7 separate regions of the Homo sapiens genome follow, and all the other regions are linked to region 6. Evidence: promoter capture Hi-C in human tissues and cell types (Jung and others, 2019). All regions are on one chromosome and are shown on one strand. Each heading gives the region's core, a stretch centred on a gene start or on the middle of the fragment in contact. The rest is flanking DNA. Distances are from core to core; before and after follow the strand shown. Region 1 has its middle 5.0 kb from the start of NINJ2. Region 2 overlaps RAD52 (RAD52 DNA repair protein). Region 3 overlaps WNK1 (WNK lysine deficient protein kinase 1). Region 4 overlaps WNK1 (WNK lysine deficient protein kinase 1). Region 5 overlaps RAD52 (RAD52 DNA repair protein). Region 6 holds the start of FBXL14 (F-box and leucine rich repeat protein 14). Region 7 overlaps WNK1 (WNK lysine deficient protein kinase 1).

Region 1 (3,875 bases), core at 814-3,313, 930 kb before region 6:
GTCTCACTCTGTCACCCAGGCTGGTGTGCAGTGGCACAGTCTCTGCTCACTGCAATCTCTGCCTCCTGGGCTTAAGTGATCCTCCCACCTCAGGCCCCAACCCCCAGCCCAGTAGCTGGGATTACAGGCGCGTGCCACCATGCCTGGCTAATTTCTGTATTTTTTGTAGAGACGGGGGTTTCGCCATGTTGCCCAGGCTGGCCTCAAACTCCTGAGCTCAAGCGATCCGCTCACCTCGATCTCTCAAAGTGCTGGAATTACAGGCGTGGGTCACCATGCCCAGCCAGTAAACTTTTTCTGTAAGGGGCCAGAGAGCCAATATTTTTTAGCCTTTGTGTGTCATATGGTTTCTGCTGCGATGACTCACTTCTATAATAATGTGAAAGCAGTCATAGACAACATGTAAATGAACGAGTGTGGGAGTGTTCCAATAAAACTTTATTTACAAAAAGAGTCAGATATTCATAAAAACAGACCGGAGTTGGCTCCACAGGCTATAGTCTGCTGACCCCTGCTCTAGGATTTAATCAGAGTCTTTGAAGTCTAATTCCCACTTGAGAGGCAACTACTGAGTCTCTACCACGTGGATATTGGGTTAAACACTGCGGGGATATAAAAGCACCACATGCACGCCCTGGTGAGACAACTGATGGCAAGGGAAGCTGTAGTGAAGAGTGTTGCTGCCATTTGGCTGGTGCTGAAACTGCACCTACGTGGAGGTTATCACTGTGGGTGGAAATGGTTTCTATTGTTCTTTACTGCTAGGGTGATTTTTGTGGTGTAAAGCCAGAGGGACATTTTTAGGGAGACTGTCTCTTGGAAAGCATATTTTGGAATATCCTTGAACTTACAGATAAGTAGACACTCAGAGTGACTCAGAAACTACTCTGAGTCTAGTTTCATGGAATGAGGGGTCTACAATGAGACCCTAGGTATCTTGCTATGTAGAAGGAGCAAAGCATTGTTGTAGGGTACTGAAGAAGGCAACAGCAAGAAGATCCTTTAATTTTGAATTGTGGGAAAAGCTCTAGGGTGAAAGCCAGGTGGCCTGGATTCCTCTCTGTGTGCTGAGTCACTGTGTTTTTAGGCAAGTCACTTAACTTCTCTGGGGCTTACATTCTTGTTTGTGAATGTGAAGCTATCAAAAGAGTTGATTCCTAAGATCCCTCTAGCTCTTAAATTCTGTTTCTAATGTGTGTTTTGGCCAGGTGTCGTGGCTCACACCTGTAATCCAGCACCGAGGTAGGCAGATCACCTGAGGTCAGGAGTTTGAGACCAGCCTGGACAACATGGTGTAACCCCTCTCTACTAAAAATACAAAAATTAGCTGGGCCTGGTGGTGCATGCCGGTAATCCCAGCTATTTGGGAGGCTGAGGCACAAAAGAATGGCGTGAACCCAGGAGGTGGAGGTTGCAATGAGCCGAGACCACAACACTGCGCTCCAGCCTGGGTGACAGAGTGAGACTCTGTCTCAAAAAAAAAAAAAAAAAAAAAAAGTTTATATTAAATACTTCCTGTGTAACAATATAAAATCTCAGATACAGGTCTGAATTTCAGTGTGTAAAAGTTGAGGGCTAGAAATTATTGGCTTTTTAAAAAATTGAAGCAGAGCAAGAAGAATCTAATGCTTTTAGTTTAATTTTACCAATAAGACCTTCCCTGATGGAAAATTTATGTAATTAGAAAAATTTTAGGGAAAATTACCACTGTCTGTTGCCCCTGCTCATGGAGACTGAGTAGGGCATACCCACGTCAAACAAGATACAGAAGTGAGAATAAAAGCTGACTTCAAAACATTCTTACAAACTTGCTTATGCCCATTTACACATGAACTCAGCTGCTTTCAAATTCACTTCTCCAGGAATCCCAGGGCCAACAGGGATGGCAAAGGGAAGCTTTCTGAGGGCCTATGGAGGGAGCTGGTAGTGCAGTAAATGTTATTGAACATTTCCATCTTCACTCTTCAATATAGTAGCCATTAGCCACATTAGCCAATTGAGCACATGAAATTTGGTTGGCTGAGTAGGAATTTGAGTTTTAAATCTGATTTAGTTTCAATAAATTCACATATTTTGATTTTATTTATTTTTAAATTTATTTTAGAGACAGGGTCTTACTCTGTCACCCAGGCTGGAGTACAGTGGCACAATCATAGCTCACTGCAACCTCGAACTCCTGGGCTTAAGTAATCCACAACCTTAGCCTTCCCAAGTGCTGGGATTACAAGCATGAGCTACTGTGCCTGGCCTAAAATCACCCCCCACTTTTTTTTTTTTTTTTTTTTTGAGACAGAGTCTTACTCTGTCCCACAGGCTGGAGTGTGCTGGCGTGATCTCAGCTCACTGCAACCTCCACCTCACAGGTTCATGCAATTCTCATGCCTCAGCCTCCTGAGTAGCCAGGATTACAGGCGTGTACCACCATGCCCAGCTAATTTTTCTGTGTATTTTCAGTAGAGACGTGGCTTCACCATGTTGACCAGGCTGGTCTCGAACTCCTGACCTCAGGTGATCCGCCCACCTCGACCTCCCAAAGTGCTAGAATTACAGGCGTGAGCCACTGCGCCCAGCCTCTAAGTTCACATTTACGTGGTTACATTTAAGTAGCTAGTAGCCACCTTCTCGGCCAGTGGAGCTATCAACCAAAATTCCACATTTAGAATCCTGTCATTGTGTATGTGTCACTTCTATTTGGCTGCTCACGCCTTGATAGATGCTCACGGGGCCTGACTTCACACAAATAGGAAGTCAGGGCACACAGCTCTCGTGGGAATGCCCCACGAGGCCTGGGGATGCTCTTGGTGGTGGTGAGTAAAATTTCCCTTCACTCTTTCACATTCAGAGGAGGGGGATTTTAACTGTGACTCACTGTTCAATGAATGATTAAAAACAGAGCCTCCGGTTGGGCGCGGTGGCTCACACCTGTCATCCCAGCACTTTGGGAGGCTGAGGCGGGTGGATCACGAGGTCAGGAGTTCAAGACCAGCCTGGCCAAGATGGTGAGACCCCGTCTCTATTAAAAATACAAAAAAAGTAGCTGGGCATGGTGGCGCGCGCCTGTAGTCCCAGCTACTTGGGAGGCTGAGGCAGGAGAATCGCTTGAACCCGGGAGGGGGAGGTTGCAGTGAGCTGAGATCACACCACTGCACTCCAGCCTGGCGACAGAGCAAGACTCCGTCTCAGAAAAAAAAAAAAGGTGCCTGGCACTCTCTTGGTGGCTTAAGGGAGAGGAATAGATGATCTTTTCTTAGTGATAGGAGAGAGACAAAGATCAGTGGTTTGCAAACTTTTTAAAGATAAGAAATCCTTTTCTTAAACGTAATCTTATGTGGAAGTTAACATAAAGCAGATTAAAGTGAAGCTGTTTGAATGCTAGAGTCACATCCACTTCTGCCCTATCTGTCCCGCCACCTACCCCCCGCAACTGCCCCGTTCCATTTCTCGAGCTGCCCCTTAAGGCACCTCTTGGGAACCAATGGACTTCTGCTCAGGAGGCATATGGTAATAAGCCTCTAAGGGCTGGTGTGTGGGGGGGCTGGGCAACCCCAAGTCACACAAAATTGTGTGGAGGTTTCAAGTCTTGAAGTGATATTTAAAAAAGGAAAAAAAGGCCAGGAGCAGTGGCTCACACCTGTAATCCCAGCACTTTGGGAGGCCAAGGCGGTTGGATCACCTGAGGTTGGGAGTTCAAGACAAACCTGGCCAACGTGATGAAACCCCGCTCTACTAAAAAAAAAAAAATACAAAAAAAAAAATAATTAGCCATGCGCGGTGGCAGGCGCCTGTAATCCCAGCTACTTGGGAGGCTGAGGCAGGAGAATCTCTTGAACCCGGAAGGTGGAGGTTGCAGTGAGCCAAGATTGTGCCACTGCACT
Region 2 (3,925 bases), core at 487-2,986, 670 kb before region 6:
TTCAATCACAATGGAATGAAACTAGAAATCAACAGCAAAAAGAAAACTGGAAAATCCACAAATCAGTAGAAATTAAACACCACACTCTTAAAGTCAAAGGAAATGTAACAAGCCAACTTAGAAGAATTCCCAGAGACAAATGATACTACAACACAACCTACCAAACTTCTGGGGTGCAGGGAAAGAAGTCGTAAGAGGGAAGTTACACACATAGTTAAAAAAAAAAGATCTCAAATCTACGCTATACCTCAAAGAACTAGAAAAAAAAAGTTACACCCAAAGCTAGAAGAAAGGAAATTCTAAAAAGATGACAGCAAACATAAGTGAAAGAGAGAATACAAAAACAATACGAAAAAGCTCAATAAAAGTAGGAGTTGGGCCATATGGGTTTCTCACGCCTGTTATCCCAGCATTTTGGGAGGCCAAGGCAGGTGGATCACTTGAGGCCAGGAGTTTGAGACCAGCCTGGGCAACACGGTAAAATTTTTTGTATTCTGTACAAAAAATAAAAAAATTAGCCTGGCATGGTGGCAAATGCCTGTAGTCCCAGCTACTTGGGAGGCTAAGGCAGGAGGATCATTTGAGTCTGGGATATAGAGGCTGCAGTGAGCCGAGATCACACGACTGCCCTCCAGCCTGCGTGGGAGGATCACTCAAGCCCAGGATGTCGAGGCTCCAGGGAGCCAAGCCATGATCAGACCACTGCATTCCAGCCTGGGTGACAGGGCGAGATCTTGTCATGAGATGAGATGAGATGAGATGAATAAAAGAAATTAAATTAAAATAATAAAACAAAATAAAATGACAAAGGACTTGAATAGACATCTCTCCAAAGACGATAAACAGATGGCCAACAAGCATATGAAAATATGGTTGGCTGGGTGCGGGGGCTCACACCTGTAATCCCATCACTTTGGGAGGCCAAGGCGGGCGGATCACCTGAGGTCAGGAGTTCGAGACCAGCCTGACCAACATGGTGAAACCCCATCTCTACTAAAAATACAAAAATTAGCCCGGCATGGTGGCAGGCGCCTATAGTCCCAGCTACTTGGGAGGCTGAGACAGGAGAATTGTTTGAACCCAGAGGCAGAGGTTGCAGTGAACCAAGATTGTGCCACTGCACTCCAGCCTGGGTAACAGAGTGAGATTCTGTCTCAAAAAAGAAAATATGGTCAACATCACTAATCATCAGGGGTATGCAAATCATAACCCCAATAAAATATCACGCCCATTAGGTTGGCTTAAAAAAAAAAAAAAAAAAAAAACCAAAAACTCAGAAAATAACAAGTGCTGGTTAGGATTTAGAAAAATCTGAACTCATGTGCCCTGTTGGTGGAATGGTAAAATGGGGCAACTGTATGAAAATCAGTGTGGCAGCTCCTCGAAAAATTAAAAATAGGATTACCATGACCCAGCAATCCCCTTCAGAATATGTCTAAAAGAATTGAAAGCAAGATCTCAAAGAGAGTTACACACCCTCGTTCATAGCAGCATTATTCACAATAGCCAAGAGGTTGAAAGCAACCCAAATCCCCATCACCAAATGAATGCATAAACAAAATGTGGTCTATATATACAACAGAATATTCAGCCACAAAAAGAAGGGAATTCTGATACACACTACTACATGGATGAATCTTAAAGGCATTAATGCTAGCTAAGTGAAATAAGCCAGTCACAAAAAGCAAAAATTATGTGATTCCATTTATATGAGGTATCCAGAGTAGACAAATTCACAGAAACAGAAAGTAGACACATATACCTATAATCTCAGCACTTAAGGAGGCTGAGTGGGAGGATCGCTTGTAGCCAGGAGTTTGAGACTAGCCTGGGCAATAGCAAAACTCCATGACCACACACAAAAAAGTATTTTATTTTTATATTTTATTATTATTATTTTGAGACAGAATCTCACTCTGTCTCCCAGGCTGGAGTGCAGTAGTGCAATCTTGGCTCACTGCAGCCTCCACCTCCCAGGTTCAAGCGATTCTCATGCCTCAGCCTCCAGAAGAGCTGGGATTACAGGCAGGCTGACCACCGGGATTACAGGCAGGCTGACCACCATGCCCAGCTGATTTTTGTATTTTTTAGTAGAGACAGGGTTTCACCATGTTGGCCAGGGTGGTCTCAAACTCCTAGGCTCAAGTGATCTAACCACCTCGGCCTCCCAAAGTGCTAGGATTATAGGCAGGAGCCACAGCGCCTAACCTAATTTTTTAAAAAAGAAAAAAAGATCAAGACCAGCCTCAGCAACATAGCAAGAACTCACCTCTTAAAAAAAAAAGCCCCCAAAAAAAGTTAATTAGCTGGCTCCAGGTACAGTGGCCCACGCTGCAATCCCAGCGCTTTGGGAGGCCGAGGCAGGAGGATCACATGAGCCCAGCAGTTCATGACCAGCCCTGAGAAATTCTGTCTCTACAAAAAAAATAGTAATAATTGTTTAAAAAATAAATTAGCTAGGTGCACTGGCACATACCTGTAGTCCCAGCCACCTGAGAGGCTGAGGCAGGAGGATCCAGGAGGATCCCTTGGGCCCAGGAGTGCAAGGATGCAGTGAATTATGATGGCACTCCTGCATTCCAGCCTGGCTGACAGAGCAAGACCTCATCTTTCATAAAATAAATTAAAAAAAAAAAAAAAGGAAAGAAAGTGGAAGTAGTTACAAGGGTCTGGGAAAGGGGGAAATGCGGAGTTCTTGTTTTACGGGTGCAGGGTCTTAGTTCTGCAGATCAATTTCACAACAATGGGAATACACTTAACACTACTCGACCACACACTAAAAATAGTTAAAATGTGATGTGTTTTACTACAATTTAAAAAAAGAAAAGGCCGGGTGCGGTGGCTCACGCCTGTCATCCCAAAACTTTCGGAGGCCGAGGCAGGCGGATTACTTGAGGTCAGGAGTTCAAGACCAGCCTGGCCAACAGGACGAAACCCCATCTACTAAAAATAAAAAAATTAGCTGGGCATGGTGGTGGCTGGCACCTGTAGTCCCAGCGACTTGGGAGGCTGAGGCAGGAGAATGGCATGAACCCGGGAGGCAGAGGTTGCAGTGAGCTGAGATCACACTACTGCACTCCAGCCTGGGCGACAGAGTGAGACTATCTCAAAAAAAAAAAAAGAAAAAGAAAACTTGACTAATATCTCTCATAAACATAGATGCAAAAATGCCTAACAAAGGCCGGGCGCGGGGGCTCACGCCTGTAATCTCAGCACTTTGGGAGGCCGAGGCAGGCGAATCATGAGGTCAGGAATTCGAGACCAGCCTGACCAAGATGGTGAAACCCCGTCTCTACTAAAAAAATACAAAAATTAGCCAGGCGTGGTGGTACACACCTGTAATCCCAGCTACTCAGGAGGCTGAGGCAGGAGCATCGCTGGAACCCAGGAGGCAGAGGTTGCAGTGAGCCAAGATCACACCACTGCACTTCAGCCTGGGCGACAGAGCGAGACTCCGTCTCAAAAAAAAAAGTCTAACAAAATATTAGCAAACTGAATCCAATAATGTTTAAAAATGATTTTTTTAAAGGAGTTTTTACAGATGCCCAGTGACACACACCTTGTGGGGCTCCATGAGGACAAGAATCCCTCAGGCACAGGATGGGAATGCTGCCCTGGGGAGCGACATGGCAGGGACCTCGGAGAGCAGATGAGGCAGGAGGAACACTCCAGAAGCCACTCATGGCAAGGCAGTGTGACTCCAGGGCTGCCCCACCACAGACCCCATTCTCCAAAGGCAAAGGCTCAGATCACGTTATAGGTATTGACAGAAATAATGGACATGTAAATGACATTGTAATGACATCAGACATGTAATGACACCAGAACTAAGGAAAAGAAAGAAGGCTCAACAGCGAGGCTGGGAGTGTCTGGGAAGGACAGTGGTGCTGCAGAGGGCTGTGTGCTTGCTTTGAGGCTTCACAGA
Region 3 (3,751 bases), core at 1,094-3,593, 700 kb before region 6:
ACCATGCCTGGCCCTAAAAGGTGCCTTTCTTTACATCAGACTTTTAGACTTTAAAAGAAAAAGGAAAGAAGATAAAATGTTCTCAGACATAAGTGTTTCATCACATATACTGTCTTTCTGCCCTTTTACAAAGACCATAGGAAAGGCAACGAGGCAAAAGTTTGAGTGACTGAAGCTAAAGATTTGTGGTGTCTGTCTGTGTGTGTTTTACAGCCTGTGTCCATGGCGGCTCCAACAGCAATCACAGAAGCAGGAACACAGCCTCAGAAGGGTGGTGAGAAACATCCTTCCTCCTTTTATATTACTAATTCCAGCCCTACCCGTAGTTGATTCAGGAGGTTTACCGTTTCAAAGACACATTTCCACGTATTTGATAACTGAGGAGCATTGGTAGTAATATCTAAAGCTTGAAAGATTAGCAAATTAATAAATCTGTTCCGTTATTATTTGTCAGAGGAAAGGTTATACAGGAGGTAATGATAAGACCCTTCATTATTAGCTATGCCAGATCCTTGCTATTAGAGATTAGGAAATTAAAGCATACTGTATTTAGAAAAGTAAATTTACTGATAACCTCTTAGCTTTTGTGACACTGGATATATAGGGATAGAAGCTTGAATAGTCTGGACATATATTTGTATTGAAATACAAATGTAAGATTTCAGTTAATCAATTTAAACATTTTTATTTTCAAGGCAATTATATTCTCAATTGGCTCTCATTTTAAAAGTGATTTGCAAATCATTAGAATGGTCTAGAAATGGAAAAATGAAAGGGGAATGTAGATTATCAAAATATGTAGAGTATCAAGTATGTACAATGAAAATAATAAAGATTACTACCAATAAAAAGAGAATGTAGAATATGAAAAAGGTAGCTTTTCAAATCATTGGAAGATGGAATATTTCTTTTTTTTTGAAGTGGAGTTTGCTCTTGTTGCCCAGGCTGGAGTGCAGTGGCATCATCTCGACTCATTGCAACCTCCACCTCCCAGGTTCAAGCGATTTTCCTGCCTCAGCCTCCCAAGTATCTGGGATTACAGGCATGCACCACCACACCTGGATAATTTTGTATTTTTAGTAGAGACAGGGTTTCTCCCTGTTGGTCAGGCTGGTCGCAAACTCCTGACCTCAGGTGATCTGCCCGCCTCGGCCTCCCAGAGTGCTGGGATTACAGGCGTGAGCCACCGCGCCTGGCTGAAAGATGGAATATTTTTATAAGTGGTTTAGAACAACTTGAAAGCCATCTGGAAAAAAGCAAAGGTGGATCACTAGCCTAGACATAAGTAAAGTCCAAGTGGACCAAAGATGAAATATTATATCATAAAATAGTACTATATGAAATCATAAGGGGATTTTTTTTCTTTTTTTTTTTTTTTTTAGTTTTTTAATTTATTAGTAATAACAACTTGAGAATTGCATAGTATTAAGGCATCAGTTCTTGGAGTGTGGGCTGAGGACCCTTTTGGGGTGCCTATGAGGGCAACACTATTTTACAGTAAAACTAAGACATTATTTTCCTTTTTCACTATAGACAAAAATTTAGCCAGCTGTGGTGGTGTATGCCTGTAGTCCTAGCTAATCGGGAGGCTGAGACGAGGATTGCCTGAGCCCAGGAGTTCCAGGCTACAGTGAGCTATGGTTTTGCCACTGCACTCCATCCTAGGTGGCAGAGTGAGACCCTGTCTCAAAAAAAAAATCATGCATGAACAAAAAAATGTATAGGTCAATGGATTTTAATGGCCACAGTTATGAATATCTTATTACTATTATTTCAGATCCCACATTATAACTAACTTTTTTTTTTTTTTGTGGCTTGGAAATCTTTTTTTTTTTTAATTTTATTATTATTATACTTTTAAGTTTTAGGGTACATGTGCACAACGTGCAGGTTTGTTACATATGTATACATGTGCCATGTTGGTGTGCTGCACCCATTAACTCGTCATTTAGCATTAGGTATATCTCCTAATGCCATCCCTCCCCCGTCCCAAGGGGATTTTTTTCAACTATCTAGAGCAGGGTTCACAAACTCTTTTTCTGTAAAGGGCGAGATGGTACAAATTTTAGGCTTTCTAGACCATATAGTCTCTTGCAACTTACTCAGATCTCACAAGTAGCAATGGACAATACATAAATAAATGAGTTTGTGTTTCAATAGAATTTATTTACAAAAACAGGCAGTAGGCTGAATTTGGTCCATGGATCAGTTTGGAGTTCTCAGATAAGTTTAATAGAGGTGTTAAGTTCAATGTCTAATCCAGAAGCAAGTAGTAATAGATATAAAATTTTCTTCATGGAAGAAAAGTGCCACCGATTGCAAATATAAATGAAAAACTGGGGAAATATATATATTTGTGGGAGGGGGAGGGGTATGTGTAGTCATATCACAAAAAGAACTCGTTTTGCTAATACAAAGAGTTCCTAAAATTCAACATGAACCAAAAAACAATCAAAAGATAACAGAAAAGGAAACTTAGACATGAAAATATTTAATGTCCGTAATGATAGAAACACAAAGTAAGGCTACAAGTGATAGCAATTCCCACCTCTCATTGGTAAATTCAGGGGTCTAATAGCCACCAGTGACTTGGTACAGCCTCTGGGGGGATCAGTTTATAATAGTGATGTCTACTACAGTCTTAAATGGAAATAATTCAGCACTTTCATTGTGGTATATTTATTGTACAGATCTATAAGAGAATATTTATTTCTAAAATAGCAAGAAATTCTGGGCCGGGCATGGTGGCTCACACCTCTAATCCCAGCACTTTGGGAGGCCAAAGCAGGTGGATTGCTTGAGCCCAGGATTTCGAGACCAGCCTGGGCAATATAGTGAGACCCCCATCTCTGCAAGAAATTTTAAAAATTAGCCGGATGTGGTGGTGTGCACCTGTTGTTCTAGCTTCTCAGGAGGCTGAGGAGGAAGGATCACCTGAGCCTGGGAGGTTGAGATTGTGGTGAGCTGTGATGGCATCACTGTACTCCAGCCTGGGTGACAGAGTGAGACCCTGTCTCAGGGAAAAAAGAAAAGAAATTCTGAATAATTTAAATGCCCATCAGTAGAAGCCTGATTAAATATGAAATATATATATGGTATATACATAGGGTATGACACTATGCAATCATTAAAAAGAATGAGGCATTGATATGGAATGATCTCAAAGATATAGAATTACATGAAAACATAAAAATCGCTCAATGTTCTACTAGCTGTATAAAATAAATATATCTCTAGAAAGAAACTCAAAGCATTGTTCCCCGGAAAGGTTTTTAAATTGCCCAAAACTAAATAATTCTGAGGGCTGGGTGCAGTGGCTCACGCCTGTAATCCCAGCACTTTGGGAGGCTGAGGCGGGCAGATCACGAGGTCAGGAGATCGAGACCATCCTGACTAAGACGGTGAAACCCCGTCTCTACTAAAAATACAAAAAATTAGTCGGGTGTGGTGGTGGGCGCCTGTGGTCCCAGCTACTCGAGAGGCTGAGGCAGGAGAATGGCATGAACCTGGGAGGTGTAGCTTGCAGTGAGCCAAGATCGCACCACTGCACTGCAACCTGGGCAACAGAGTGAGACTCCATCTCAAATAATAATAATAATAATAATAATTCTGAGAACTGTACTATCCTATTCTAGAATTTGCCAGTGTTACATTGAGAAAATAAAATTAGCTGGTTTTCATTTAACAATGGATCTTGGCTGGACATGGTGATTCACACCTGTAATCCCAGCACTTTGGGAGGCTGAGGCAG
Region 4 (4,013 bases), core at 1,181-3,680, 810 kb before region 6:
GCATGTGCCTGTAGTCCCAGCTACCTGGGAGGCTGAGGTGGGAGGATTGCTTGAGCCCAGGAGTTTGAGACCAGGCTAGGCAACAAACCAAGATGCTGTCTCCACCAAAAAAAAAAAAAAAAAAAAAAAAAAATTATCCAGGCACAGCGGCATGTGCCTGTAGTCCCAGCTACTGGGGAGGCTGAGGTGGGAGGATTGCTTGAGCCCAGGAGTTTGAGACCAGGCTAGGCAACAAACCAAGATGCTGTCTCCACCAAAAAAAAAAAAAAGTATCCAGGCACAGTGGCATGTGCCTGTAGTCCCAGCTACCTGGGAGGCTGAGGTGGGAGGATTGCTTGAGCCCAGGAGTTTTGAGACCACAGTGAGCCATGATTGTGCCCCTGTGCTCCAACCTGGGTATCAGAGCAAGACTCCCATCTCTAAAGAAATTGTATTTTATTTATTTTATTTTTACAACCCAGATGTGTGAATCTTGAAGGAATTTTTTTTTAATTGGCTAATGGCTACTATTACTGGACAGCTCAATTTCTGAATGCCAAGTACCTCTTGTTAAACTGTTCAACAGCCTTTCCCTACCATCTCAAGAAGTTGGTGATAAAAATTATCAATAATGAATTACAGTTTTTTAATTTTTGCCTTTGATGTGATTGTCTTATTTTATAATATGTTAGCATTTAATATGAATATTTTTGTTGACATTTATTTTTTATTTTTAAAAATAGCATTATTGAAGTATAGTTGACATAATAAAATGTACATATTTAAAAGGTACAAATTTAATAAGTTGTCCACATCCATGAAACCATCACCACAGTCAAGATATTTATTACTATTTTCCTGAAGTCTTCCCTCCTAGCTGTGCAAATCTCCTGTCACTACATTAAAACTTTTAGATATTCTTCTTTTTTGGAGATAACCTCTCTTAAACTTCTAAACTTCACCATTTGTACTGGTTGCATTCTAGGTTGATGCTTAGGTTGGGGATCTTCATTCATTCTCATTTTGGAGATTCTTCTTATATCTAGCTGGTTTTTGATCCTGCTTCCAGAATCCCATTTCTTTCTCTTTCTTGGTCTCCTCATTTGTGAAAGAATAACTTCATAACTCTTTGAGAAAGGTCATTTGGGAGATAAATGTATTTTTGAGAACTTACATGTCTGAAAATATTTTCCTTCATCTTCCTTTCCCTTTCCTCTTTAATAGGTAGTTCGGATAACAAATTCTAGATTGGAAATAATTTATTTCAGAATTTTAAAGACATTTATTCTATTTTCTTCTAGCTTCCAGTATTGCTGTTAAAGTCTGAGGCTAGTAGGATTCTCTGTTCCCTGTAACCTATTGTTTTTTTCCTCTGGAAGTTTTCAGGTTTTTTGTCTTGTCCTCAGCGTTTTGAAATTTCAGCAATGTGCCTTGGTATGGGTCTCTTTTTTCCATTGTGGCTTTTTGTCTGGAAACTCACTGGCCATCAATTCTGAAAATTTACCTTCTACTCATTTCATTTCTTGCCCTCTGTTTTTTATGTTGCCCCTTCCAGAACTCCTGTTACATATATGTTGGTTCTCCTAGACCAATGGTCTAACGTCCATATCATTTTCTCCCCCCCCCCCACCCCCTCGAAGTGGAGTCTTGCTCTGTCACCCAGAGCTGGAGTGCAATGGTGTGATCTTGGCTCACTGCAGCCTCCACCTCCCAGGTTCAAGCAGTTCTGCCTCAGCCTCCCGAGTAGCTGGGATTACAGGCACCCGCCACCACGCCCAGCTAATTTTTTGTATTTTTAGTAGAGACGGGGTTTCACCGTGTTCGCCAGGGTGATCTGGATCTCCTGACCTCGTGATCCACCCGCCTCAGCCTCCCAAAGTGCTGGGATTACAAGCGTGAGCCACCACATGACCCTGCCTTTTCCAGGTTCCTTTTTTTGGTTGTTGTTATTTGTTACTGATTTTAGTTGCTCTTTAATTTTATTTATTTATTTTTTTGCTTCCCATGTAGATTGGATGCTCTTTAAAGACTTTTTTCAAGTAATCCCATGAGCCTTGGTTGTCGCATTTGAGTTGGGCACTGAAAACTGATAAATAAATGCGGTTTGCTGATTGTGGGCCCCAGTATAATCTGACTGTACTGTTCTGGCATCTTATGAAATGCAGATGTTGGGATCTTTAGAGCTGTTCATTTATGCTACTCAGATCCCTAGTTTTATATGCCAAAGTATAACTTATGCTTTATGTGATTTCCACTTTAGAGATTTTATTAAAACTTTTTATTTATAGTCTAATGTATGCTGTTGTAAAAATTGAAGTTCTATGTTTATTTGAAAATAGTATTTATTAAGGGAAAAAATCTGTATTTGTTAATTGTATTGCTTAAATTCCATGTATTTTTGTTGCCTTAGACTACTTGATTAGCTGATATTTGATAAACGTGTCAGCCCTACAAAATAATTGTGGATTTGTCAATTTCCGTTTGTATTTCTAACAGTTTTTATGTTATATATTCATAGCTTTATATTTAGGCTGGGTTAAGCATGAATGTTATATACGTAAATAATTGTACTTTTTATCAATATAAAATATGCAGCATTTTCTCAAATAATTCTCTTTGCTTAACACATTCCCTTTTTATATTGTCATTCTTTTTTCACATTTGTTTTATTTGTTCCTCTATCTTCCCTTTTTTTTTTTTTTTGAGACAGAATTTCACTCTTGTTGCCCAGGCTGGAGTGCAGTGGCACAATCTTGGCTCACTGCAACTTCTGCCTCATGGGTTTAAGTGATTCTCCTGCCTCAGTTTCCTGAGTAACTGAGATTATAGGCTCCTGCCACCAGGCCTGGCTAATTTTTGCATTTTAGTAGCGACAGGGTTTCATCATGTTGGTCAGGCTGGTGTCGAACTCCTTACCTCAGGTGATCCACCCACCTTGGCCTCCCAAAGTGCTGGGATTACCAGTGTGAGCCACTGTGCCTGGCCCTTTATCTTCTTTTTTATGTCATTTTAATTTTGATGTGTTTCTTATAAATAAACAGTGTTTAGACTTTTTTTTAAAGCCTGTTCCACAGGTTTTTTGTAATAGAGAACTTTAACGTACATTTATAGTAATAATTGGTATGTTTGGAGTTGGTCTTCTTCCTGCCTTCTATGTGTTTTAATTGGTATGTTTGGAGTTGGTCTTCTTCCTGCCTTCTATGTGTTTTATTTCTGCCTTGCCTTTCTTAGATAGATTTATTTTCTTTGCATTTTACACCTAGTAGTCTATCTTTTATGTAATTTTCATTATTTAAGTGACTTAAATGAAATTATGTATTTTTCATTGTTAATTTTTAAAACACCTACATATTAGACTATAAATCTACTTTATAAAAATAAAATTATTTCTCTACTTTTATAGGTGGTATTGTGGAATGGCAAAGCACAGACTCTAGAACAAGGCAGCTTCTGTTTACACCTTGGCTTGGCTTTGCCACTTTTTTATTGTAATCCTCTTGTGCATCCATTTCTTTTTTGGTTAAAGTAGAGATGGGGTCTCACTGTTGCTGATCTGAAACTCTGGGCTCAAGTGATCCTCCTGCCTCAGCCTCCCAAAGTGCTAGGATTTCAGGCGTGAGCCACCAAGCCCACGTAGGTACCTACTTCACAGAGGTGTTGTTGAGTTTAAATATGTTAATATATGTAAAGCACCAGAACAGGGTCTGGAAGTCAATAAATGTTAGCTATTATTAGGTGTCAGTTATTAACAAAAGCTTGAAACTACATTATTAGCGTAGTTCTTGTGGGTTCCTGTGTTTAATGCTTGCCTGGTTCTTAACCTATATTAGCTTTCTGTGTGTTTAAAAAAAATCTTTATCTTTTGTGTAAGTCGGTTTTCCTTATTCTTACACACTTTAATGTATGTAGGCTGCTCTGTTGTAAAGACCATCTGTCTTCTGCTGGGCTGAGGACCTCTGTGCATTTCCACTCTTTGACCATCTCAGGACAGGCACAACAAAAAAATGTTAAAAACTTAGATGTTGTCATGGATA
Region 5 (3,975 bases), core at 730-3,229, 660 kb before region 6:
GTTAAACAAAGGTAGAATCCAAATGCATTAGGCATATCTTACACAGCACTTCAAATCTTCTTGGCCTTGTGTGTCCTTGAGGCCCTTGGTCACTTTGTCCACTCCAGCTGTCACTGGGCTGATCAAACACGTCTGGGTTATAACCAACTGCCCACAGGCACAACCCCACGGTCCCTTACCTCCTGCTCATACTGGGTACCTATCACTTCCCACCCGTGGCTTGCTGCTTGCCTTGGAGGTGTAAGGGTCTGTGGGACCCACCTGGTACCCACACATGCACAACCTAGAAGTCTATGGGAATTAATGTGCCATGAAGCAAACCTTTTTCCAGTGAGATACAGAAGCTGAGGGGTCCGTCCACCCTTCCTTTAGATGGATTGCCCTGGAATGCAGTTATGTATACATCCTCCTGGGAGACAGCTTTAGGAGAACAAGCAACCAACTGTACTTGCACCAAGGGCAACCAACTTCAAAATGCACCCTTGAACTGACTTAATCTTCCTTCTCCCTTCACTCACCTTTCCCCTACCTCTGCTTCCTGAGAGCACACTTCTTGAAAAAATAATAGCACATACGCTCTTGCCTCAAGCTGTAGGTTCTCCAGGTTCTAGGGTACCCAGGTATAGCAGACACTACGGATGCTCTACTCAGCATCCCTTCAGCTTTTTTTTTTTTCTGAGACAGAGTCTCGCTCTGTCACCCAGGCTGGAGTGCAGAGTGGTGTGATCTCAGCTCACTGCAACCTACACCTCCCAGATTCAAGCAATTCTCCTGCCTCAGCCTACTGAATAGCTGGGATTACAGGCATCCACCACCACGCCTGGCTAATTTTTGTATTTTTAGTAGAGACGGGGTTTCGTCATGTTGGCCAGGCTGCTCTCGAACTTCTGACCTCAGGTGATCCGCCTGCCTCATCCTCCCAAAGTGCTGGGACTACAGGTGTGAGCCACCGCGCCCAGCCATCCCTTCAGCTCTTACCACAATAGTGCACCCTATTCTGACTTCCAAATGCCAACATCTGCATCTTGTTACCTGAGAGCTTTCTTTGGTATCCAGACTACTTTGCACCTGTTTATGGCAAGCTGTAAGCACCAGAAAATTGAACCACCCTGGCAGCAGCCCTCAAATGGTGCCTGACAGGAGCTGGTGTTGAAATACGCTAAATTTCTGACCCCTCTGTGGAACATCACCAAGCCATGAGCTTCTCCAGTGGAATTAGGTTCCCCCGTGGCAACAGGCTTGAAAACTCACCCTTTGTTGTCAAACTTTCCTTTCCTGTCTCCCTTCCCCGCTCCTCTACTGTGTAAAGGACTAATCTCCAAATAAACTACTTGGGAATAAAAAGGAGGGCGGCAAAAGATGCCTTTACAATGTAGAAACCTGGGAGTTACCACCTTAATTATTAAGGAATCAAACTTAATGTCACCAATTACAGTCACATCATGTGCTTCCTGATGGACGCACTAAGAAGGTCCCATCATTGAGGTAGTATTTCTACCAACCTAATCATCAGGAAACAATCAAACAAGTTGAAATCTACAAAGCAACTGGCCTGGACTCTCCAAAGCATCAGTGTCTCAAAAAGCAAAACAAAATAGAATGGCTGGTGAACTCTTTTATGTTAAAAGAGGCTTAAGGCTGGGTGTGGTGGCCCACGCCTGTAATCCCAGCACTTTGGGAGGCCAAGGCGGGTGGATCATCTGAGCTCAGGAGTTCAAGACCAGCCTGGCCAACATGGTACAATTCCCGTCTCTACTAAAAATATAAAAAGTAGCTGGGCATGGTGGCACACACCTGTAGTCCCAGCAACACGGGAGGCTGAAGCAGGATAATCACTTGAACCCAGCGGGTGGAGGTTGCATGAGCCAAGATCATGCCACTGCACTCCAGTTTGGGTAACAGAGCAAGACTCCATCTCAAAAAATAAATAATAAATAAATAAAGACTTAAGAGGCATGACAACTAAATGCACTGTGTGATCTTCAATGAAATTTCGGATCAGGGATAAAGAAAAGCTATAAAGAATATTATTAGGACAATGGGAGAAATCTGATGATGGGATGAATATGAGACTGCAGCCACAACCTCCTGGGCTCAGGTGATCCTTCTGCCTCAGCCTCCCGAGTAGCTTAGACTACAGGTGTGCACCACCACAGCTGGTTAGTGTGATAATTATATCGTGATTCTGTAGGACAATGGCCTATCACTAGATGTATGATTTTGTATGATGCAATATTGGAGTAAAGTGTCATGTTTTCTGCAACTTACTCTCAATTCATTCAACTAATTGTGTGTGTGTGTGTGTGTGTGTGTGTGTGTGTAGAGAGAGAGAAAAAGGCAAGTAGATAAAGCAAAAGTACAAATTTATGAACCTAGGTGAAGGATATGCAGACATTAATTGTAAATTTTTTTTTTGAGACAGTCTCGCTGTGCCACCCAGTGCAGTGAGGCGATCATGGCTCACCGTACCCTCAAACTCCTTGGCTCGTGATCTTCCCACCTCAGCCTCCTAAGTAGCTGGGACTACAGTTGTATAACGCCACACACGGCATATTTTTTATTTTTTGTAGAGACACGGGTCTCACTATGTTGTCCAGGCTGGTCTCAAACTCCTGGGCTCAAGCAATCTTCCTGCCCAGCCTCCCAAAGCACTGGGATTACAGACGTGAGCCACTGCACCCAGCCCACTGTAAAATTTGTCCAAAGGCTTCAAATCTTTCAGGATGAAGTGTCAGGAAAGACTACCTGCATAGCCAAGATTATGGCAGCTATATAAATCCAAATATCCAAACACATGTCCAAAAACTACACAGACCAACCAACCGGAGAAACAAAGAAAATCACCAACGTCTCATATCTTCAACATACTTAGAAGACTGAAAATACTACAAGCTTCTAATTACCCATAAGTAGAAAAACGTCAATTTCTTGTAGAGATGTTTCTCAATCTCTCATCTCAGCTCTTTAAGGACAGCAAAGAGGGATCCAGATAGGAAGAGAGATGCAAAGAAGAGAGAAGAGGGCTGGGCGCACCGGGCGCGGTGGCTCATGCCTGTAATCCCAGCACTCTGGGAAGCTGAGGCAGGCGGATCACGAGGTCAGGAGTTTGAGACCAGCCTGGCCAAGATGGTGAAACCCCGTCTCTACTGAAAATACAAAAATTAGGTGGGCGTGGTTGTGTGCGCCTGTAATCCCAGCTATTCGGGAGGCTGAGGCAGGAGAATCACTTGAACCTGGGAGGCAGAGGTTGCAGTGAGCAGAGATCACACCACTGCACTCCAGCCTGGGTGACAGAATGAGACTCTGTCTCAAAAAAAAAAAGAAGAGAGAAGAGGACAATGGAGAGCCTAAGATGGAACTAAAATATCACCCTGAAAAAGAAAACTCACGGTAAGTATGAAAACACCAACAAAGAATTCCGTTAAATCGGGAGGGAGGAAGGGAAGGTCGGGTAGAGACACTTTTAAACACATGCAGAACTTGATGAGGTAGTCTTGAAAACGCAAGCCTTCTGGGAAGAAGGAGAAAAAGAATGAAAGGGTACCCTCTGTTGGCCGGGCGCGGTGGCTCACGCCTGTAATCCTAGCACTTTGGGAGGCCAAGGCGGGCGGATCACGAGGTCAAGAGATGGAGAACAGCCTTGCCAACATGATGAAACCCAGTCTCTACTAAAAATACAAAAATTAGTTGGGTGTGGTGGCGCGTGCCTGTAGTCCCAGCTACTCAGGAAGCTGAGGCAGGAGAATTGCTTGAACCCGGGAGGCAGAGGTAGCAGTGAGCAGAGGTTGCAGTGAGCCAAGATTGCGCCACTGCACTCCAGCCTGGAGACAGAGCAAGACTCCGTCTAAAACAAAACAAAACAAAACAAAACCAAAGAGAAAGGGTACCCTCTGAAAACTGTGCTGTGAAAGACACAAAGAAAATGTAAGAGCCAAAGGACATAGAACCACCTCCCCGACAAAAAAGCCTTCTAGT
Region 6 (4,026 bases), core at 255-2,754:
GTGCATCTGCCGCACCATGCGGTTGATGCCATCATCACTGATGTGGCAGGAGCAGAGGGAGAGAGACTTGAGGCCATCCAGCCCCTGGGCTATGTAAGCCAGACTCTGGTCTCCCACCTTGTCACAGAACGAAACATCCAGCCCCGAGAGGCGCAGGCTGCCCATGGCCAGATGCATGATGCCCGTGTCACTGATGTTGTCACAGGAGCGCAGGTTGAGGCTGCGCAGGCTGCCCATGTGCGACAGGTGCAGGAGGCCAGCGTCCGAGATTCCCCCACAGAAGCTGAGGTTGAGGAGCCTCAGGCCCGTCAGCCCTCGGGAGATGTGCTTTAGAGAAAGATCTGTGAGCTTCTGGCAGTCCTGTAGCGTGAGCTGCTCCAGGCCCAGGCAGCCCTCCGCCGCGCTGCGCGTCATGCCGGCCAGGTGCCCGATGCCCACATCCGAAAGGTGGCGGCAGCTGCGGAGGTTAAGGCTCTTGAGGCGCTGCAGACCCCAGGCGATGAGCAGAAGGCCAGTGTTGGTGATGTTGCTGCAACCTCCCAGCTCCAGCACCTCCAGGCCCTTGAGGTACTGGGCTATGCGGCCCAGGCTGCTGTCAGTGATCTGCTTGCAGAGGCTCAGGTTGAGAGCGCGCAGGGAGCCGATCTCCTGCACAAACGCGTGGCCCAGCCCGTTGTCGGTGAGGTTGTAGCAGCCGCTGAGGTTGAGGCTCTCGATGTTGGCCATGCCCTGGATCACGTAGCTGAGGCTGCGGCGGAGGCTCAGGATCTGCACCCGGCGGATGCCCCGGGCCTGCAGGCTGGGGAACAGCGACGGGTTGGCCCGGCGCAGGTGCAGCTTGGCCTCCACCCCCCGCCACACCGACTTGTGGTAGGCGGCGTCCCGCCAGGCGGTGCACACCTGCGCCGCGCGCCCCTTGTCCCGGACGTCCAGGTAGCCGAAGATCATGGCCAGCAGCTCCGGGAACAGGCATGAGATGTGGGTCTCCATCTTCCTCCTCCCCCCTCCGCGGCGCTGGGGGGAGGAGGCGCGGGCCCCGCCGCTCCGGCCTCGGGCAGGCGACGAGAGCGCTTCTCCCCAGCCGCCGCCGCCGCCGCCGCCGCCGCCTCGGGCCCAACGGCCGGCCCCTCCCCGCCTTCCGGCTCCGGCCGCCGCCGCCGCTCCTCCTCCTGGTCCGTCCGTCCTTCCTTCCTGCCGGCTGCGCCTCCGGCCCGGCCCTCCCCCGCCCCGGGCTCCGCACGGCGCTCACATCCCGGGCGGGGAAGGCGCCTCGCTCTCGCTCCCGGAGGCCGGCCGCCGCCGCCGCCTCGGCTCTACCCACGCCGCGCCCGGGCCGCGCCGCTCCGCCCGCGCCGCCGCGCCCACGCCCCCTGCCGCATCCTCCGCCTCCTGCCGCCGCCGCTGCTCCGCGGGCCGGCGGGCGGCGAGGGGGCCCCGGGGGCCGGGCGCACGGGCTCCGGGCGCGGAGGAGGCTTCCTGCTGCCTTTGTCTCTCGCCCGCTTTTCAAACCTCCCAGCCCCGGGCCGCCCGCACTCCGCCGCCCAGGCGGGGGGACCAGGAGGCCAATCCCGGCCGGCGGCGTGCGTTCCTTCTCCCCCGCCGTCCGCGGCCACTTGGGAGCTGCCGGCCCCCGCACCAAGGACGCCGCGGCCGTCCGGCCGGAGCGCGGCTCGGCGCAGACCCCGGGCGAGCAGGCGGGCCGTGCGTTTGGTAGCGCCCGGGCCGGCCCCGGCTCCGCCGCCCTGCAGCGCGTCCCCTCCGCCGCTCCCGCTCCCCCGCGCCCGCGCAATGGTACGGGCCTGCGCTGCCGGAACTGTGGAGCCGTTGCCCTGGAAACCGAGTTCGGCCTGGTCCCGTGGCCCCTGATTTTTAACCCTGTGGGCGCCACGGGGGAGCGGCAGCTGTCAGCAGAGCGCCTCCCCACCCGGCTTCTTTTCACCCGGTAGCCCGTTATTGAGCCGTTCCCTCTCTGGGCCACGCCCCAGCCCCGTTCCTTCTTTTTCTTTGCTGTTGAAGTCTGCGCAGCCCCTTCCCACAGTTTACCCCTGCAATTCGTTACCCTTATTTCACACCCCTCTCCCTTGATTATCCCTGCGAGAGCCGCCTCCTATAGCAGTGCTCAATAATCGTCACCCCAACTCTCCTTTTCTTACTGTCCCTAATGCCCCTTAACGCCTCATTATCACACCCCCTGCTCCCCCGGTTGGGGCTGTTTACTACGACGCCTTTCTCTCCAGTCTTGTGTCTTAAATTGGAGAGAAACTCGGCTGTACTCATCTTAAACAATGACCCCCTCCAGTCGGTGTTCTAGAAATTTCTAGAATTATCCATGACTACTTCCTTCTAGCATCTTCTGATGGTTTCCAGACACGCTGTGTGTGTTTCCCTCGGTACTTGATACATCAAAACTTCCCTCTACTTCTGAACGCTGCTGCGCCACCAATGCCCTCAGTCCGCTTTGCTTACAGGGGAACAGCCTTCCCCTAAGCCTTGTTTTAGGAGCTTTCTCCTTGTCATCAGCCTTAGACTATCAGTTGTATGGCTCAGTTGTACTGATAGTCAATATATTCGTATATGCTGAATCCAATTTACTTTTTGATTAAAATGGAATGACAGTTGAACTTGGTTTAAGACAATCCAGTCGTGTCTGTTGGTTTATCAACCGTTTTATGGAAGCAGGGCACAATTCCATTCTAGGATGTAGCCCCTGGGTCCTAAATGTCCGTACTAAGGATAGAATTTCAGAAGTTTCATTTTAACTACCCCCAAACCAAGAATTTTTGGATCAGAGAAAATGATCCTCTGTATTTTAATTTATGGATCCACACAACTAGATACAAGACCAGCGGATTTATCAGAAAGGGAAAATGGTTTCATTGATTCTTTGAGGACCTGAACAAGATTTGGAAGGGGTTCCATATTCAGTGTAGGAGAGTAACTTTTGCCCAAGCAACCACTATTAGACCAAATACATACAGATTCAGTAATAGGCATAATACACCTTTTACACCCCTACCACTCCTCTTTCCTAAATCAGGAAATGCAGAAGCAAAAATTCTCGCCAGCTTGTTACCTCACCCACATTACACGCAGTGTGGAGCCCATAGATTTTTATAACCTTCTTGAAAAAATAGACTGTACTGTTAGTCATCCAGTACATCCAGATGTACGGTGGCAGTAAGTGTCACGATTCTGGGGTATGCCTGGGCTTCACTCTTCTCCTGGAGGTTATCTAGGCTTTTATTCTTCTCAGTCACTTCTGCCTAAACGTTTACCTTAAATTCTGCGCAAAAGTCACTTTTTGATTGTTCTGTGCACCTAGATGTGTTTGGGTTGATGTCAAGGCCTTAATCCAAAGCACCTTAGTGTAACTTAATCCTGCTTAATAAAAAACAAAGTACCCCACACATTTGGGGGGAATTTTAGACAAGGGGCCTGACCAGCCTCGGACTAAGAAGGAGCCTAATGGTTTTCCTTCTCTAGAAAGGCCCTTGTTCTCAAATCTGAAGAGTCATTCAGAGGTATCTGGAAGCACTTTCTCTAGAAGTTGGCCATCTGGTCCTCGTTCTAACAACAGTTTTTCTTGAATTCTAGAATCTTATTAACACAAAGCCTTTTATTTAAGGCACTCAAGTATATATTATAAGGATTTTCAGCAATATGACTATTTTCACCTTCAATAAATAGGAAAATATAGCATCAAGAAGCATCACAGAAAAAGCATTCCCGGGGAAAAGGAACTAGGGCGTAGAATGAGCCCTATGCCGAATCTGAACACCTGGTGACTTTATGCTACTGAGGAAACGACTCTCCTTTCTGGGTCTCGGTTTCCTTGTGTAACACCAGGATGATTTGACTAGGTAATCTTCAGGGACCTTTCCAGTAGGAACACTCTGAGGCCAAGAGCCTAGCATACTGTCTCCTTAACCCATGGAACAATTACACATTGTTCCTAATGCAGGCTCCAGATATTAAGAATAACTTCGAATACAATAACTTCCTGGGAGCTTTGGTTTATGCTCAGAC
Region 7 (4,141 bases), core at 808-3,307, 760 kb before region 6:
TCCAATACCCTGAACCTGTTCAGATATTCTCTCCATTGTTTCAAAAATGTCCGTTGACAGTGTTCAAAATAGGCTCCATCAAGGTCCACAAAATATATTTTATTGTTGTAGTTCTTAATCTAGAACTATTGCTTTTACTTTCTTTTTCTGCATGCATGTCAGAGATTTATTGAGAAAATTAGATTATTTCGAGGAATGTTCCACATTCTGAATTTTCCTCGTGGTGTCATTTAACTAGTTTATTCTTCTATATTTCTGTAAGGAGAAGTTTACCTTAAAATGGTTGGGGTAGGTTAACAATGTAAAAATAATTTTGTCTTTTTTACTCGCATTCACCCAAGAGTGTACGTTGTTGTTTTCCAGAGGCTATATGATACTGCACATATGATATTGCAGCAGAGTACATACAGAAGCATATAAAAGAATTCATTTGTAGGGCCGGGCGTGGTGGCTTATGCCTGTAATCTCAGCACTTTGGGAGGCCGAGGCAGGTGGATCCCTTGAGGTCAGGAGTATGAGACTAGACTGGCCAACATGGTGAAACCCCATCTCTACTAAAAATACAAAAATTAGCCAGGCGTGGTGGTGCACCCCTGTAATCCTAGCTACTTTGGAGGCTGAGGCCCGAGAATCTCTGGAACCCGGGAGATGGAGGTTGCAGTGAGCCAAGATTGTGCCACTGCACTCCAGCCTGGGTGACAGAGTAAGACTCTGTCTCAAAAAAAAAAAAAAATTCCTTTGTCTTCCATTAAACCATATATTTAAAAAGATTACAAAAATGTAAAACAATACCAGTCTTATCACTAAATTTTTCTTGTTTTGGAAAATACTGACTTTTTAATTTTAAATATATATTTGTAACATAATGAGTTATAATTTTTAATGAATTAACATTTTTAAACTTTCTCAGGTTTACCATCTGCCACGGTAAATATTAATAGATGTAACACACATAGACAAAATCCCTCTGAGGTCCCCAATAATGTTAATTTTAAGAGTATAAAGGGGTCCTGAGACAAAAGTTTGAGAACCACTGTTCAAAAGTCTTGATAAAATTTAGGCTAAACATTTTTTGCAAGGATACTTAATATGTGGTGCTGTATATGTTATATTGCACCGAGAAGCTCATAGTATCTCATTATTTCATTTTTAGTGATGTAATTTAATTGAATTTTGATATAGAAGATGTAATTATCAATTGCTTATTTAGATTTTGATAGCTGAACAGAATGGAAATGTTTATTTTTAATTTTTTATTTATTTATTTATTTTTTGAGACGGCGTCTCGCTCTGTCGCCCAGGCTGGAGTGCAGTGGCGCCATCTCGGCTCACTGCAAGCTCTGCCTCCTGGGTTCACGCTATTCTCCTGCCTCAGCCTCCCAAGTAGCTGGGACTACAGGTGCCCGCCACCACACCTGGCTAATTTTTTGTATTTTTAGTAGAGATGGGGTTTCACTGTGTTAGCCAGGATGGTCTCGATCTCCTGACCTTGTGATCTGCCCACCTCTGCCTCCCAAAGTGCTGGAATTACAGGCATGAGCCAGAAATGTTTATTATTAAAAACTGATAGGAAACATTTTGCTTTAGGTAGACCAAATTTTACCTCTTCATAAAGGCTTGGGAGAAATCTTTGGAGTCAAAGATTAATTATAATTATTTATTGCTGTGAATATTCCTTCAATATCCTTGTTGTATATTTGTATGTGATTCTGTTGTTGATGGATATGGAGCTACTTTGGACAATTAGTTTAATTTCATATGAAGTTTGAGGTTTCATACCCAGTAAAAATGACAGCTATTGTTTATGGAGAAAGTGTGTAACTCTCAAGTTACTTCTGGCTTTGTAATTGGGATGGTATTTTGTCAGTTATTATTATTAGGTGTATGTCTACAAGTGTCTGGCCTGAGGCCTTACTGTTAAATTTATTAACCTCTTCTTAATACTCACCCAGATTCTAATACACAATATAATTGTAATCCCTGAAGCACTGACTCTCAATTTGGGCTGAATGGGGGCAGGAGAAATTTTTTTATGCCTTCAGATGATTCTGATAAGTACCCTAATCATTATTCTACATTTATGCCCTTAGAAAGCTCATCTGCTTTGCCTTTCAGAGTTCTGTATCATCATTCCCAGTTCATGTCTCTTATTATTCCCCTTTCTTCCCCTGATGCGTTGTAATTTACATTCTCTCTTTTTTTTTTTCCTTTGAGCATAGGGTCGACTGTTTATTGGGTAATTTCCTCCTTTATTTTGTTTAAAATTGTAGAAAACTTAAGAGGTATATTTGATTTCTTGTTTTTTACTCGCTGCTTCCACTACTTCCAGTTTATAAGGTTCTTGCTTCAGAATACCTCTTAGATGCAAGCCTTCTTCATTCCCATTGCCACAACTCTGATTTCACATCTTCCTTACTGCACACCTTGCATTATATTCCAGAAGTAATTTACATTGTGAATTTATTTTTTTATTTCACTTAAACTTGTTGAGCTTTCTTGCTATCCTTTCTTGGTATAAGGAACTTAAGATACCAGTTTGCTGATATCAGAGCAAGTACAAATTCTTAATCTTTGCTATTCTTCATCTTCATCCAAGCACTCTATTTTAGTTAAATCAGTTCTCTTCATTATCTCGCACATATGCCACATCCTTTCCTGTATTCCTATCCATTTGTAAATGTTATATAATACTGTACCTCCACTATAAGCTTTTCTGCTATCCAGTCAATCCATATACTTAACGGTCTTCCTCCATGACATTTTATCTGATTGGTTTCACTGTATAATGATCTTTGCCTTTTCTGAGCTGATTCTTCTCAATTGATATGAATGATAAAATTTTGTTTATTAGTGGTTATTCTACTTATAAATTCATAAATTCAATTAATGTACTTGCTTATTATTTTTATTGCTTTATATTCCTTAAAATATTTTAATCTAGTACATCTGTATAATTTCATCCTTATCTGTAGCACTATCCTAAATACAAAATAAATCTCAGTGCCAGTAAATGCAACATTTTCTGAATCCCTGCTATGTCCCATGCCCAGAGCTTGATACTAAGTAAAGGTGAATAATCATATTCCCTGTCTTCAGAAAACTACCTCTAATATAGAAGATTAATATGTAAACAAAGAATTATAATTACATTATGGTGAGTATTGTAATGGAGACAAGCACTAAGGAGAGTGGAGGAACAATGGATAACCCTGCTATGGATTAGGGAAGATTTCACAAAAAGAGCTGTTGTATGAACTGTCAAAAAGAGAAGGTAGAAGAATGGTGAGAGGCCATTCTAAGAAGCAGGAATAGGATTTACATGAATGCTGAGATGCCAAACACCGTAGTACAATGGAAGGAAAGGCAAATTGATCAAATAGAGTGAAGCTGTTGTCTTGGACAAATCAATTTTTGATCCAAGGACAAATCAATTGCTACTTAGTTTCTCCTGCTCCCAAATCCTGTCTCATCTCAGAGCAGAGAGTTTCCGGTTGGTAATTAAGAGGCAAACTTCTGACTGCTGATATGTGTTTTTACTGCTATTATATTGTTGTATTTTAATGGTGAAAGAGACTTTATCTGTTTATAGGCTTTTGGAAGGAGCAAGAGGAAGAGAGAGAGAAGTAGAAATCATGGTGGGTGGTGGTGGATAGGGTAGAGTAATATCCAGGATTCAATGGGCTTGTGACATGGTATAATGGTAAGTCTTGATAGGGAAGGTTTTCTCCTGAGGTAAGGGAAGCAAGATGGGTTTTGGAAGCAAAGTCTTGGGTTCACATCCTTGCCCTAGTTATTGCCATACGATCTTGAGCAATTCACTTAATTTCTCTGTACTTCAATTATTTTGTTCTCTGTAAAAGAGATACTATTACCCTCTTACAGATTGCTTAGCACAGTAGATAGTACTGGTACTGATAGTAGGCTGTGGTTATTGTCTATGAAATATGAGTTGTCATCTTCTTGGGGGGGTGTGTAGAATGAAAGATGGCCTTTAAGGATGATAAAGGCTTAAAATAACATCTATGAAACTTTGAACTGATTAGGAAATAATAATTGTGAAGCAGCACCAGGCATCCAGAATCTTCCTTTTTAGTATTGATAAACACTATTATGTAAACAATGAATATATTGTTTGTACGCG

Evidence for each region. Contacts are between HindIII fragments. The study calls those that stand out against the background at their distance.
Region 1: a fragment that was not itself captured here is called in contact with the fragment with the promoter of FBXL14 in region 6 in 1 of the 25 tissues and cell types used here (dorsolateral prefrontal cortex).
Region 2: a fragment that was not itself captured here is called in contact with the fragment with the promoter of FBXL14 in region 6 in 2 of the 25 tissues and cell types used here (adrenal gland and dorsolateral prefrontal cortex).
Region 3: a fragment that was not itself captured here is called in contact with the fragment with the promoter of FBXL14 in region 6 in 1 of the 25 tissues and cell types used here (aorta).
Region 4: a contact is called between a fragment that was not itself captured here and the fragment with the promoter of FBXL14 in region 6, in 1 of the 25 tissues and cell types used here (dorsolateral prefrontal cortex).
Region 5: a contact is called between a fragment that was not itself captured here and the fragment with the promoter of FBXL14 in region 6, in 1 of the 25 tissues and cell types used here (dorsolateral prefrontal cortex).
Region 7: a contact is called between a fragment that was not itself captured here and the fragment with the promoter of FBXL14 in region 6, in 2 of the 25 tissues and cell types used here (dorsolateral prefrontal cortex and spleen).

What each region holds. Positions count from the first base shown.
Region 1 is chr12:666,473-670,347 of GRCh38, forward strand. No RefSeq gene overlaps it. Among named protein-coding and RNA genes, the nearest start is that of NINJ2, 5.0 kb to the left of the region's middle. RefSeq lists an enhancer at 171-670. The HindIII fragment of the contact is 6,399 bases long and covers 1-3,875 here.
Region 2 is chr12:920,949-924,873 of GRCh38, forward strand. The region is part of intron 7 of RAD52 (RAD52 DNA repair protein); the gene reads right to left. Among named protein-coding and RNA genes, the nearest start is that of RAD52, 27 kb to the right of the region's middle. The HindIII fragment of the contact is 6,705 bases long and covers 1-3,925 here.
Region 3 is chr12:890,240-893,990 of GRCh38, forward strand. WNK1 (WNK lysine deficient protein kinase 1) reads left to right here. Exons shown (of 28, transcript NM_018979.4): 22 at 214-274. Among named protein-coding and RNA genes, the nearest start is that of RAD52, 58 kb to the right of the region's middle. The HindIII fragment of the contact is 7,049 bases long and covers 1-3,751 here.
Region 4 is chr12:783,803-787,815 of GRCh38, forward strand. The region is part of intron 1 of WNK1 (WNK lysine deficient protein kinase 1); the gene reads left to right. Among named protein-coding and RNA genes, the nearest start is that of WNK1, 33 kb to the left of the region's middle. The HindIII fragment of the contact is 4,373 bases long and covers 245-4,013 here.
Region 5 is chr12:936,765-940,739 of GRCh38, forward strand. The region is part of intron 1 of RAD52 (RAD52 DNA repair protein); the gene reads right to left. Among named protein-coding and RNA genes, the nearest start is that of RAD52, 11 kb to the right of the region's middle. The HindIII fragment of the contact is 4,320 bases long and covers 1-3,975 here.
Region 6 is chr12:1,593,077-1,597,102 of GRCh38, forward strand. FBXL14 (F-box and leucine rich repeat protein 14) reads right to left here and starts at 1,505. Exons shown (of 2, transcript NM_152441.3): 1 at 1-1,505. The coding sequence starts at 990. RefSeq lists enhancers at 1-62, 580-769, 2,140-2,209 and silencers at 1-29, 1,010-1,879. The HindIII fragment of the contact is 15,118 bases long and covers 1-4,026 here.
Region 7 is chr12:830,820-834,960 of GRCh38, forward strand. The region is part of intron 4 of WNK1 (WNK lysine deficient protein kinase 1); the gene reads left to right. Among named protein-coding and RNA genes, the nearest start is that of WNK1, 80 kb to the left of the region's middle. The HindIII fragment of the contact is 7,038 bases long and covers 1-4,141 here.